Linked DNA regions of Homo sapiens: regions 1 and 3 are each linked to region 2. The links are contacts of gene promoters, found by promoter capture Hi-C in blood cells and fetal thymus (Javierre and others, 2016). All regions are on one chromosome and are shown on one strand. The core of a region is centred on a gene start or on the middle of the fragment in contact, and the rest is flanking DNA. Distances in the headings are between cores, read along the strand shown. Region 1 holds the start of TRT-AGT2-1 (tRNA-Thr (anticodon AGT) 2-1). Region 2 holds the start of H3C8 (H3 clustered histone 8). Region 3 has its middle 8.3 kb from the start of H1-1.

Evidence for each region. Contacts are between HindIII fragments. The CHiCAGO score rates a contact against its expected background, and 5 or more counts as called.
Region 1: a contact is called between a fragment that was not itself captured here and the fragment with the promoter of H3C8 in region 2, in 15 of 17 cell types (erythroblasts, M2 macrophages, fetal thymus and 12 more). The highest score is 13.9, in erythroblasts.
Region 3: a contact is called between a fragment that was not itself captured here and the fragment with the promoter of H3C8 in region 2, in 1 of 17 cell types (neutrophils). The highest score is 5.1, in neutrophils.

What each region holds. Positions count from the first base shown.
Region 1 is chr6:26,528,612-26,533,325 of GRCh38, reverse strand. TRT-AGT2-1 (tRNA-Thr (anticodon AGT) 2-1) reads left to right here and starts at 336; the gene lies at 336-409. RefSeq lists a silencer at 364-453 and a cis regulatory region at 1-622. The HindIII fragment of the contact is 5,099 bases long and covers 1-4,714 here.
Region 2 is chr6:26,269,559-26,274,319 of GRCh38, reverse strand. It overlaps H3C8 (H3 clustered histone 8), which reads left to right and starts at 2,907. Exons shown (of 1, transcript NM_003534.3): 1 at 2,907-3,402. The coding sequence starts at 2,936. The coding sequence ends at 3,346. It overlaps H2BC10 (H2B clustered histone 10), which reads right to left and starts at 1,389. Exons shown (of 1, transcript NM_003525.3): 1 at 908-1,389. The coding sequence starts at 1,344. The coding sequence ends at 964. It also overlaps the pseudogene H2AC10P. RefSeq lists enhancers at 299-458, 869-918, 929-1,058, 1,799-2,138, 3,866-4,005 and 1 more. The HindIII fragment of the contact is 12,049 bases long and covers 1-3,506 here.
Region 3 is chr6:26,007,309-26,011,756 of GRCh38, reverse strand. No RefSeq gene overlaps it. Among named protein-coding and RNA genes, the nearest start is that of H1-1, 8.3 kb to the left of the region's middle. The HindIII fragment of the contact is 1,116 bases long and covers 2,401-3,516 here.

The sequences.
Region 1 (4,714 bases), core at 947-3,446, 260 kb before region 2:
CTCCCTGAAGCCCGAGGTCATACTTTATCCACGTTAGGATGAGCTGCTTGCTATTTGAGGCAGTTTCTCGGAGGACTCTCCTGTTCGCCCCGGGGCGGGGGTCAGGCTATCGCCAGCCTTTCCCTCACCCCCCACCTCCCCCACGCGAAAAACCTCGTTATCCTGCAGCTGAGCGGTTTCTTAGGTCTTTTGGGGCGAAGCCAAGGTTAATCTTCAGTGTCTGAAGAAGCGTGTAGCTACTTTCAAACCTCAGTAACAAGAAAGTGTATCAATGCACAGAACAAAGGCAAAGATCATCTCTTTTCTATGCTCATTTGTACCACCGCAGGCATGGTGGCTCCGTGGCTTAGCTGGTTAAAGCGCCTGTCTAGTAAACAGGAGATCCTGGGTTCGAATCCCAGCGGGGCCTGTTGTAGTTTTCCTGCATTCAAAGTACCCACGGAACAGTTGAAGTATGCGTGAAAGGTTATTTTCCCCTATGGGGCTCCATCAAAGTGTTTTATATGCGTCCGGTGTGAAACCTCCTTGTTTACGAAAAAGAAGCAAAGATAAATTTGGCTTTCTTTCAGAATAATGAAATTCTGAATTTCTTGCTTTTCTTACACTTTTCTTCCACATGTTATATCTTACAACATGTACGAGAGGAACCAGGGAAAGCAGAAGGCAAACACCAAATTTAAACTACAAGCAACATCATAATCTCTAGTCATTCTATTTTCTTTCCTGGGGAAATCCTAAACAGATTCATTGTCAGAATCTGCAGGTAATGTTTTTAGAAGGTCAATCTTTGGAATGATTCATAATCTGTTGTTGAGAAGGCTGTAGCATCTCTGAAAATTCACAGCAAACAGTAAGATCTGGCCACATAAAACAAGCTGTGATTCGCTATTTAAAAAGATTGCATTGTACTCAGAGTTTTTTGGAAAGGAACAAATCAAAGCAAAAACAAATATTTGTCACCAAGACTTGAGAAAAGAAGCTGTCAGAGAAGCCTCCATTTGCTTATGGGGCCCACTAGAACAGGCTGACTTGAAGAAGTCCAGGAAGGGTTGAGATGCCTTCTCCCAAACTCTCCAAGAGGAAGAAAGAGAAATTGAGAAGTAGGAAAGAAGTCAGTTTTACTCTTAGCAGAAGTTCTCCACATAGAAACACAAGACCAAGGAAATGGAAGTTCACTGTAACTATTACCAACCCTCTCACCCATCTCCCAAGACCCAGCCCACAGCTCACCTGGCACAGAAAGTTCCACTTCTCTGGCTTTTGCTTTCAGAGCATATTATTTTATGTAGATTGTCAAGGCTTGCAATATGATTTCCTGTTCTAGCTCTGGAGACAAAATCCCAACACTTGGAGGAACAGCTCAGAAGCAACTCTACTTTTATGGAGACTTTCTACTCCCATTCCGCAGCTTAATTCCCCACTTTTCTTTTTTGTTGTTGTTTTTTTTTTTTTTTTTGAGACGGAGCCTCGCTCTGTCACCCAGACTGGAGTGCAGTGGTGTGATCTTGGCTCACTGCAACCTCTGCTTCCAGGGTTCAAGCAATTCTCCTGCCTCAGCCTCCCGAGTAGTTGGGATTACAGGCGCCCACTATTATGCCCGGCTAATTTTTGTATTTTTAGTAGAGACGGGGTTTCACCATGCTGGTCAGGCTAGTCTTGAACTCCTGACCTCAGGTGATCTGCCCACCTCGGCCTCCCAAAGTGCTGGGATTACAGGTGTGAACCACCGCCCCCGGCCAATTCCCCACTTTTCTTTATAAACATCAAGCACCAATGGAAAGGCAGACCCTTCTTTTTTTTCACTAGAGCCTTCTATCTTCTGTTCTTTTTCCCTAGGCCCAGATACAAACTTCCCTCAAATGATAAGACAGGCTGGGTCACTGGTGCAGATGTCAACACTAAATCACTAATTCATCCCCTTACCAATCCTGCCTCATTTCCACTCTCCTGCTCCATCAGCTCCAGAAATACCTTTATAGGAGGCTTGTGGCCAAGTGGCCCTCAACAGATTGCATGGTCTGTACACTGAGTTGGCAGTAGTGGTACTGGCTACTGAAGCTATTGAATATTCCAGGTGATGAGTCTCACTATCTTTCCCAAAAGCCTATGTCTTCCTAGTTCTCCATATATGGATACATCATGGAAACAATTTATGTGTAAAAGTGGAAATGGTTTGCAATCAGATGCTTGTTTGTCTAGTGAGTGGCTATTTGTCAATGGCCAATTACTATGTGGCAGTTACCATGCTAATCACACATGGGTGAAGAGGCTGATGGGAAGGGAGAACAATTTAATGGCAGTTATAGTATAGTGGGATGTAATACTATTGGGAGTACAGGGTGCTTTGAGCCACACTTGCCTATTTATTTATTTATTTATTTAGAGATGGAGTCTCGCTCTGTTGCCCAGGCCGGAGTGCAATGGCGCAATCTTGGCTCACTGCTACCTCTGCCTCCTGGGTTCAACGATTCTCCTGCCTCAGCCTCCCGAGTAGCTGGGACTACGGGCACCCACCACCACGCCCGGCTACTTTTTGTATTTTTAGTAGAGACGGGCTTCACCATGTTGGCCAGGCTTGTCTCGAATTCCTGACCTCAAGTGATCCACCTGCCTCGGCCTCCCGAAGTGCTGGGATTACAGGTGTGAGCCACCACGCTCGGCCCCACATTTGCTTATTTATTTATTTTTTTTAGGGACAGAGTCTGGCTCAGTTGCCCAGGCTGGGGTGCAATAGCACAATCCTAACTCACTGCAGTCTTGAACTCCTGGGCTCAAGCAATCCTGCTGCTTCAGCCTCCTTGAGTAGCTAGGCCTACCAGTGTGTGCCACTATGGGTCTGCCACCACGTCCAGGTGATTTTTGTTTTGTTTGTAGAGATAGGGTTTCATAATATTGTCCAGGCTGTTCTCCAACTCCTGGGCTCCAGACATACTCTGGCCTAGGTCTTCCAAAGTGTTGGGATTACAGGCATGGGTCACTGCGCTGGCCTGCAGCCTCATTTGAAAACAAACCTGTCTGTGTGGGGCTGGGTGCAGTGGGGATCACCTCTGTAATCTCAGCACTTTGGGATGCTAAGGTAGGAGGATCACTTGAAGCCAGGAGCTGAAGACCAGCTTGGGCAACATAGTCCATAGTGAGACCACATCTCTACATAAAATAAATTAGCCTGGCATAATGGTGTGTACCTGTAGCCGTAGCTACTCGGGAGGCTGAGGCGGAAGGATCTCTTGAGCTCAGGAGGTTGAGGCTGAAAAAAACAAAACAAAACAGAAAAACAGACAAACAAAAACCCTGATTGGGCGAAGGTGGAAGGAAGACTTTATGGAAGAAGTGATACCCACACTGAGCCATGAGGGAGACACAGAACTTGTCAAGGAAAGAGGATAGACGTGGGAGGAGTAGAATAGATGCCCTGGGCAAAGGGAACAGTGTGTAACTAAAGGTGAGGAAGAGAATGCTCAGTTCAGATAAGTGGAAAGCAGTTAGGTGAGGGTATGTGCAAGTCTTAAAACTGTTTTTTGTCTGGAGATAGGCGGAGAACATTTGACTTGGCAGTTGATAAGTGTCAGGTGTTTCATGCTTTCTTTTAAAAAGACAATGCCTTACCAAAGCAGTTTGGATAGCATTTGAATTTACAAGTTGTGGATTAAGTAGGGCCTCTAGCTCAGCTGCTGAGGTTCTCCTATGGGCAGGTGGAGCTAGAAGGGACTGTGTTTCCCATTGCATTCTAAGTAGCGATGCTCATCTACTTGCTTCATATCTGTCTGAGCTAGCCTGTTTACTTCTCAAGGCAAGGGCTGTGCCTGTCCTCTTCACTGCTGTATCTCCAGAGACCAGCACAGGGCCTGGCCAACAGCAGTGTGATGATTAATATTATGTGTCAATTAGAGTGGTTCATTAGATACTCAGATTACACATTGTTTCTGGCTGGGCTTGGTGGCTCATGCCCGTACTCCCAGCACTTTGGGAGGCCGAGGTAGGAGGATCGCTTGAGCCCAGGAGTTTGAGACCAGCCTGGCCAACATAGTGAGGCCCTCATGTCGCTACAAAAAAAAAAAAATTAAAAATTAGCCAGGTGTGGTGGTACGCACCTGTAGTCCCAGCTACTCATGAGACTGAGGTGGGAGGAATGCTTGAGCCCAGAAGATCGAGGCTGCAGCGAGCCCTGGTTGTGCCACTGCACTCTAGCCTAGGTGACAGAGCGAGACCTTATCTCAGGGTGCTTCTGGATGAGATTATCATCTGAATCAGGGACTCAGTAAAGCAAATTGCCCTCCCGGGTATGATCCCTCCCATTTGTTAAGGGCCTTAATAGAACAAAGGTTGAGGAAGGAGGAATTCACCTCTTCTCCCCCTACCCCACTGATTTACATCTCATTTTTTTTCCTCTTGCTCTTGGACTGGGATTTACTTCGTTGACTCCCGGGGCTTTCAGGCCTGATTGAGACCCAAACTGAATTACACTACCTGTTTTTCTGGGGCTCCAGCTAGCAGATGGCAGATTGTGGGACTTCTCAGCCTCCTCCATAATTGTGTGAACCAATTCCTTATCATAAATTACTGTCTCTCTCTCCATAGACAGGCATAGATAGATAGATACATACACACATACATACATAGTTAATAGATAGATAGACTATTAGTTCGGTATTTCTGAAGGACCCTAATACAAGCAGGTACTCAACTATGAAAAAAAAAATACAATGTATCAGGC
Region 2 (4,761 bases), core at 1,658-4,157:
GTTCAGCTAAGAAGATGGTAGAGTTCCTGATCTTGCCAAGAGGTAATATGTATAGCTACGTGAAGTAATCCAGTAATTATAAACTCAGTAAAATTTGTAGAGAAATCAGTGGACTTGCAAGGGGGATATGAGAACGTCTGGTAGCGATCTGCCATGGTTTAGAAATGCAACCAACAGAGGTGATTTCCTCCATCATATGCCGCTCCAACCATTTGCAAGCTAACAACGAACTAAAAGACGAGTTTCGCTTTCTCAGACCTTATTTTAGATTTAAGACTACCCCAAACTTGATTTCCACCCGGCTACTCCAAATCAAGGGCAATAGGATGATAAAGTGAAACTAAAAACGAAAACAAAATTTTAAGATGGTGGTGTGCGGGGAGAAGAAAAGTGGGGATCAATCTAGAACACGATTTTTCCTTAGCTGCTGAGTGAAATGTGTCATATTAAGCTGCATACGAGCTTACTCCTTGGTGACGCTTACAATCTATAGGGGAAAAAACAACGAACCTGGATTTTTTTTTGAGATGTCTCGCTCTTATACCCCAGGTTTGAGTGCAATGGCTCTATCTGGGCTCACTGCAACCTCCGCCTCCTGGGTTCAAACGATTCTCCTACCTCTGCCTCCCAAGTAGCTGGGATTAAGTTGCCTGCCACCACTCCCGGCTAATTTTTGTATATTTTAGTAGAGACAGGGTTTCACCATGTTGGCGAGGCTGGTCTCGAACTCCTGACCTCAGGTGACGCGACCGCCTCGGCCTCCCAAAGTGCTGGGATTACAGGCGTGAGCCACTGCGCCCGGCCGAACTTGGATGTTTCAGTAAACCCTTACTATCCCATGTGTTGCTTAGCCATTTTACCTTGCCAATGCCAAGTCTGGAAAATTACAGATCTTTAAATGACAACATGGGTGGCTCTTAGAAGAGCCTTTGGGTCGTTAGCGCTTTTACCCAGGTAACTAGTTTACTTGGAGCTGGTGTACTTGGTGACCGCCTTGGTGCCCTCCGACACCGCGTGTTTGGCCAGCTCCCCGGGTAGCAGCAGGCGCACAGCCGTTTGGATCTCCCTGGAAGTGATGGTCGAGCGCTTGTTATAATGCGCCAGGCGGGAAGCCTCGCCTGCAATGCGCTCGAAAATGTCGTTGACGAAGGAGTTCATAATCCCCATAGCCTTGGACGAGATGCCGGTGTCGGGGTGGACCTGCTTCAGCACCTTGTACACGTACACGGAATAGCTCTCCTTGCGGCTGCGCTTGCGCTTCTTGCCATCCTTCTTCTGTGCCTTGGTCACCGCCTTCTTGGAGCCCTTCTTCGGGGCGGGAGCTGACTTAGCTGGTTCAGGCATGTTCGCAGCCGAAGTGATACCGTCAAATGACCACAGGAAAATGCTGGTGAGCCCAAACGCCCTCATTATTTACCTCGTGTATATGCAAATGAGGCTGGCTGAGTTTCGGTTTCTCATTGGTTCTTTTAGTGTCTGAATATATGATAGGCCATTTCTGAACTCCTAAATCTCATCGGCTCTCCCAGAAGCTCAACCTTGCATAATTTGACCTTTCAACTATAAGTATGTAAGTCAGAAGTGGTTTTTTTTTTTTTTTTTTTTTTAAATTTTTTTAAACACCTGCTTTTCGATTGGCTGAAATCTGTGTTCAGGAGATAGCACAGTCTACTTTGCCGAATATAGATTATAAGAGTTTAGCTCTTGCGTTTTACTAGAATCAATCACTTTCCTTCTTCTAAACAAGTATTTAAATACTTCACTGCGTCTGGATGTGGAATGCAGGGCAGCAAAGCTCGCGCCAAGGCTAAAACGCACTCTTCCAGGGCTGGTCTCCAGTTTTCTGTGGGCCGAGTGCACCGCCTCCTCCGCAAGGGCAACTACGCCAAGCGGGTCCGGGCCGGTGCGCCGGTGTACCTGGAGGCGGTGCTGGAGTACCTGACCGCCAAGATCCTGGAGTTGGCGGGCAACGCGGCCCGAGACAAGAAGACCCGCGTCACCCCCCGACGCCTGCAGCTCGCCATCCACGACGAGAAGCTCAACAAGCTGTTGGGCAAAGTTACTATCGCGCAGGGCGGTGTCCTGCCCAATATTCAGGCCGTGCTGTTGCCCTGTCTATACAAGTGACTGACTAGGCAAACAGGACTAATGAGAAAATGTTTAATATCTCAAGTAAGTGCTTTAATGTAGTCGGGAAGAAGCAAGTTCAGTAACGTTTACAAAACCTTGTAAAGTTTAGATGGACAGGGCCACTGCAGTGTTCAAGTTATCCTGCAGAAGAGGCTAGTGGGGGTGGTATCCTGGAATATCATCAATAGGACCCAACGAAAAGTAAATGATAAGAGTCGTTGGAAAACCTAAAATTAGCCTGTGCCTTAAAAATTCTCAACCGAAGCAAAACACCATTTGGGACAAAATAGAATTCAGTTAACATTTGTTGCTCACTGTTGTATGTCGGTGACTTCTTGGCTCGTGATTTCCCAGGTACATCACCCAGGAATCCTGCCTTATAATGGTCAAAGGTTTCCAGCTAGCAGCAGTCCAGGTGACTCAAGAAAACGGCACAAGATAAACTTCTCAAAACGTGGTCCTCCGAATCTGGCCCCACAACACATCTACTGAATGAGAATTAGCGTCTTCCAAGTCTTAAAGTAGTCGTTTACGGACTACAGCTTGAGAAGCGCAGAATTAGAACTTTAAGAAGTTAACGTTCTTGGATCGCAGACTAACCGAGAAGAGAGGATTCAAAAATGAAGTGATTCATCCAATCAGATTTTCCAGTAATTCACCAATCACATCGTTGGACTCTTCAGCCAATGGTTTTGTTGCGCGGGTCTTTTGAAAATCAACAAGGCCAATTAGAATGTTTCTGAGTATATATAAGGGCAGTTTCCACTCTGCCAAGTGGCTGAGTTTTTCTTTCAGGTAGTCTGAGATGGCCCGCACCAAGCAGACTGCACGCAAGTCCACCGGTGGCAAAGCGCCGCGCAAGCAGCTGGCCACTAAGGCGGCTCGGAAAAGCGCGCCGGCCACCGGCGGCGTGAAGAAACCTCATCGCTACCGTCCCGGCACCGTGGCTCTGCGCGAGATTCGCCGCTATCAGAAGTCGACTGAGCTGCTGATCCGCAAGTTGCCTTTCCAACGCCTGGTGCGAGAAATCGCTCAGGACTTCAAGACAGATCTGCGCTTTCAGAGTTCCGCGGTGATGGCCCTGCAGGAGGCCTGCGAGGCCTACTTGGTGGGGCTCTTTGAGGATACCAACCTGTGTGCCATCCATGCTAAGCGAGTGACTATCATGCCCAAGGACATTCAGCTCGCTCGCCGCATTCGTGGGGAGAGAGCGTAGAGGTTTCCGGGCAGTAATTCTATCCAACTTAAAAAGGCTCTTTTAAGAGCCGCCTACTTTCACCCGAAAATAGCTGTGATTAACTAATCAAATCTTTGAAACTAAACATTGGTTTTAGTACTTAAGTCCTCATTTGATTGGCTAAAGTTAATGGTAAGCTTGCTATATTTGTTCCCGTGCTTTTTCCCGAAAGTGCCAGATTGTCAGCGTCCTTTTCTAAACTGGCTTTTAGGGGTTTGGAGCTTCGATTTGGTAGTGGAAGGGGCCACCTGGGGGCGTTTATATACATTGTCTCAAGCGTTAGTCGCGTTGTCTACTTACACCCATTATAGATGGGATTTTTTTTCGTTGTGTATTTCTGGTTAATCCCTTTTAAAACTTTACAGGTATGAGCATTGGCAGTTGAGAGTAGGTAGGGATATCCTTGGTTGCTGCTTTTTCGTGTCTGAAGCAGCTATTTCCACAATTCCCCCTTTTTTTAAACAGTTCTTGGTTTTTCTGTGAAATGATCCATTTTTTAATTCAATATTAGAAATTGGCGGCAGAAACGAAAGCCAGATTGGCCTCTACATTACTGGCAGCATGGGCATTACGTGGGAACTTGTTAGAAGCTCCCAGGGCATTACATGGGAGCTTGTTTCAATCCCCATCTAGGGCTGGAGTCAATCTGCATATACCTCAGATGATTCTCATGAACACTGATTTAGGAAGCCTAGGTTGTTGGTTTTGGTCTCATCAGTAAAGGCATCCTGCCTGTGAACTCTTACAAGGAGTGAGCTTTTGCAAAATGCATGTTTATTTATGTTACAGAATGAAATATTCTATGAAATGTTCTCTAAAGCAAGTGCACAGAACAATCCCCTAAAATAGTTTGATTTCTTTACAGATCAGTTTTCTCAATGTAACATTACAGTCACATGGGAAGGCTTTAGAAAAATCTTTACCTGGGGTTCAATGAGACTAATAGCAATCTAGAGTGGGCCCAGGGAATGGTAATTATTAAAATTCAGGTGCTTCTAACAGCTGGGGCTGAGACTCCTTGCTACATAAATTTTAATACTCTTATTAGCTCTGGTTTGACTCTAGGCTTAGCAGTTTTCTAATTGAATCAGTTTCCTTGTAGTTTGCCTTCAGAGAGAATATACTGGTCTCTAAAGACTTTCTGGCTTGCTTGACTATCTTTCAACACCTGGCTTTTATAAGAATTTCTTAGGGCAACACTAATGTAAGTTTTTTCTTTTTTGTTTTGTTTTGTTTTTTGTTTTTTTGAACCACCGAGGTCCTTTTAGTGATTGGAAGTATCAGGTTTTTAGGGATGTTACAAGGAGGAACACATACCATCCTGGGCTGCTTGGCATACAACCAAGATATGTTTTCATATAGAACCCTTCCTTTACAGATTAGCACAAGGCCCT
Region 3 (4,448 bases), core at 1,709-4,208, 260 kb after region 2:
CGAACCCTTTATCCATTTTATGTGTTGCAGGTATTTCCTCTGTAACTTGTCTTCACTCTGTCAGAGGCTGGAGTGCAGTGGCACAATCACAGCTCACTGCAGCCTCCACCTCCCAGGATCAAGCGATCCTCCCATCTTATCCTCCTTAGTAGGTGGGACTACATGTGCAGGCCACCATGCCCAGCTAATCTTTGTATTTTTTTGTAGAGATGGTGCTGTTGCCCAAGTTGGTCTCAAACTCCTGAGCTCAAGCAATCCATCAACCTTGGCCTCCCAAAGTGTTGGGACTAGAGGTGTGAGCCACCACTGCACCCAGCCAATGATATCTCATGATGCATTAAAGTCATTAATTTAGTGTACTCAAATTAAGCACACTGCCCTTTTATGCACAACCTTTTTTGTATCTTATTTAAAAAATCATTTTCTATTTCAAGGTCATGAAGATCTTATTTTATAATACCTTCTTGTGAAATTAGTTCTCAAGACTACCCTCACTTCTAACACCAATTATAAGTTGGGAGGTCTGTGGTTCCCAATCAACCTTAGGTTAGTAATTTGCTAAAAGGACTCACAGAACTTGCTGAAGCTGTTAGCCTCATGGTTACAATTTATTATAGGATATATAGCTTATTATGTCATTCCAATGCAATGTAAAATTATACAACTACTTTTAAAAAGATTTTAGCATTTGACCCAACAATTTCACTCTGAGGTATACAAACAGCAGATATGTGTGCACATATATACCAAGACACATACACAGCAAAATTCATTGTTTGTAATAGTTGAAAAGGGGAAACAACTCAAGGAATAAAGATTAAAATCAGCTGAGAAAAGAAACACACAAGGCAGTATTATGGATCGAATTGTATGCAGATCTCCCTTGCCCCCAGAAGATATGTTTAAAGTCCCAACTCCCAGTACCTCAGAATTGTGGCCTTATTTGGAAATAGGATAGTTGCAGATATAATTAGTTAAGATGAGGTTATAGTACAGTATGATGGGCTGGTGACTTAGAAGAAGTAGTATATATATATTTTTTAATAGAACTAGTATTCTTCTAAGGTGGTCACGTGAAGACAGACACACACAGGCAGAGACTGAGGTTATGCAGCTGCAGGTCAAGGAATGTCAAAGGTTGCCAGCAAGTACGAGAAGCTAGGAAGAGTCAAGGAAGGATTTTCCTACAGGCTTCAGTGGAAGCATAGATCTAATGATACCTTCATGTCAGATTTCTAGCTTCCAGAACTACAAGAGAATATATTTGTTGTTTTAAGCCACCCTAGCTTCTAGCTCTTTGTTACAGCAGCCCTAGGAAACTAATATAGGCACAATCCAGGCAAGTTCCAAATATGAGCTTCCAGTTGTCCTCTCCCAGTAATATGAACAGTATTACTTTCCCAGCATTAATGTGTGACAATACACATGACGTACAGAGCAGTCCCCACTTATGCACAAAACATATGTTCCAGGACCTCCAGTGGATGTCTGAAACCATGGATAGTACTGAACTCTATATAGCTGTTTTTTCCTATACAGACACAGCTATGATAAGGCTTAATTTATAAATTAGGCACAGTAAGAGATTAATAACAATAAATTAGAATAATTGTTAAGAATATACTGTATAAAAGTTAGGTGAATGTTTATTTCTGAAATTTACCGTTTATTATTTTTGGACTGCAGTAGACCACAGGAACTAAAACCATGTAGAAACCGTATACAAGAGAACTGTATTTCACCCGAGCCTCAGTGTGCAGTTTTAATGGCCTGCCATGGTTGACTGCTCACATGGCCGATCTTTTAGTCTACCTCCACAGGTAGAGCTGATACTGTGTGGCTCAAAGTTCCTATTATAAATCACATTGTTGACTGTGTGGTGGTCAAAACCTCCAGGTAAACAAAGACACACTTATCAGTGAGAACATTTCAAGGGTCTAAAATTCATCTCCCAGTAGCTGAGGGCAAAGGCTAGACCTCTTTTTGGGTAAGATAAATTTTTTACCATATACTTTATTTTGCTTTTCATGTTTAACTTTATTTTGCTTTTCATGTTAGTTCCCCTGGAATTGTTTTTTGTGTATAGTGTGAAGTAGGGGGTCAAGTTTCTTTTTTTTTCCTTTTTGTTCTTTTTCTGTTTAAAAGGCTATACAATTGTCCCATGCCATTTATTTACAAGAGTCCTTTCACCATTGTTGTATGGTGCCACTTTAGATGTAAATCAATGTCCATATTTGTTTGAGCCTGTTCCATTCGTTTGTCTATTTTTGGACAACACTGCCCTGATTATTGTCATTTTATCAGTTTTGATATTTAATAAAGCAACAGATTTGTTTATTTTGGGCCCTTGGATTTGTGTATTAAATTTGAACCCTGTTTGTCAATTTCTATAATAAAGCTTATTGGGAATCTGATTAGGATTACAATGGTTTTGTAGATCAGTTTGGGGACAATTAATACCTTTAAAATATTGACCGCTTCAACTGTAAATATACTCCTCCATTATTTAGTTTTCCTGTTTAATTTATCTGAGTAATACATTATAGTTTTCTTCGTAGAAGTCAGATACGTAGAAAATTCAAAGCCCAAGTGCAATAGCTCATGTCTGTAATACCAGCACTTTGGGAGGCCGATGTGGGTGGATCACCTGAGGTCAGGAGTTTGAGACCAGACTGGCCAACATGGTGAAACCTCATCTCTAGTAAAAATACAAAAATTAGCTGGGTGTGGTGGCGGGCACCTGTAATCCCAGCTAATCAGGAGACTGAGGCAGGAGAATCGCTTGAACCCAGGAGGCAGAGGTTGCAGTGAGCCAAGTTCCTGTCACTGCACCCCACCCTGGGCGACAGAGCGAGACTTCGTCTCAAAAAAACAAAAAAAAGAACATTCAAATAATCAATGTAGATAATTCAAATAACTAAAAAATGAACAGTTATTAAAATATCAGGATATAAAAGCAAAAAAATCAATAACCTCCATATATACAAAATGGCCAGTTAGAGAAAAAAAAAAGAATAGGCGAGACTTAAAAAGGCTGGGAATCTCCCTGAAAATCTTTGAGAGCCTTGGCCCTGCCCTCAGGGATTTCTCTGGCTTCATGCCCAGATACGGGTACAGTTCCTTGTTTAAAAAAATTTTGCTCCATCAATCAACAAGGGGCTCCTTCCTCAGAGCACAAGGACCTCCATAACACCGGACACTAGATGTCTAAGGGACACCTCTTAAGGAAGTTAGACTTCCAAAGAATGGTGTTTCCTCTGTCCCCAAACTCTGGAACTCACAGCACAACTGCTCCTTGGAGTTCGGTTTCAAATCTACAAGGCTGTCATGGAGGTTGCAGACCAAGTCCGTGGCCTCAGTGTCCGGATGTACGGTGGCCTTGGCACCTGAATGTGAGAACATGACCTCCCTGAAACCACCACAAGTATTGTTTCATGTTATGTATGTTTTTTCTTATCTGAAATTCCTTTTCTTTAAAAATTCAAATTACATATTTTGCAAGCCCCTGAACAAGCTTCATGAGCATTTATTGAACCCACAGCTTTTAAAACCTACTGAACACTTTGCTCTATGTTGTCATTCACTATCCACCAATTATTTAATTATTGATCAATATTGTTTCCTTAGTGTTGGGATCATTTATGCATGTATTTCTTTTATATTGCATATTTTATATTTCTGCATTACAGTTATTACATATTACTTTTGCTACAGTAATAGTTCAAAAGTGTACATCCAAAATTTAGCTGTGAAGTGGATGGACTGAGGCAGAACTGGAGGCAAGAAAATGTCACAGTAATTCTAAAAAAGATGATGTACAATTAGAGCAAGAGAGTAGCACTGAAATTGAAGAAAAATAGATGCGTTTGAGAGAAAATTAGGAGGTAGAATCAACAGATTAGATGTAGGGATGAGAAGGGTCAAAGATGACACTAGGGTTTTTAACTGGAGCAAGTAGGTAGACAGAACATTTCTTCCTGAAAGGGCAGGTCAGATCATGTGTTGTCTCAAAGGGCATGAAGAGTAGAAAGCCTGGGACAGATCCTGAGATGACCAATACCCATGGTGCAGGGAGAGGGAGGGAGATCTGCTAAAAAGACTGCAAATGTCAGGATAGTAGAAAATCATGAGTGTGTGATGTCCTGGAAGTTGAGACAGTATCACATTTGAGAACATTTAAATTGGTAACTCTGACAAAAAGCTGGAGGCCAACTGTGAATGCCCATGAGAGTGAGAAGCTCCCACACTTTTGTGGGCATCAGAAAGCCCACCAGGTTCCTGCAGTGAAGATCTGAGAAGGATCCTCTTGTGGCTTTGGCAGGGAGAGAAGAATTATTATGAAATACACCCCAGAACCTTCTTCAAAACAAAGGCCTACTCTCAAGGGGAAAACATTTTGCCAGAGTCTTATCCCAGCTGGGAGAAGGTAATTCTTCCCACTGCAGCCT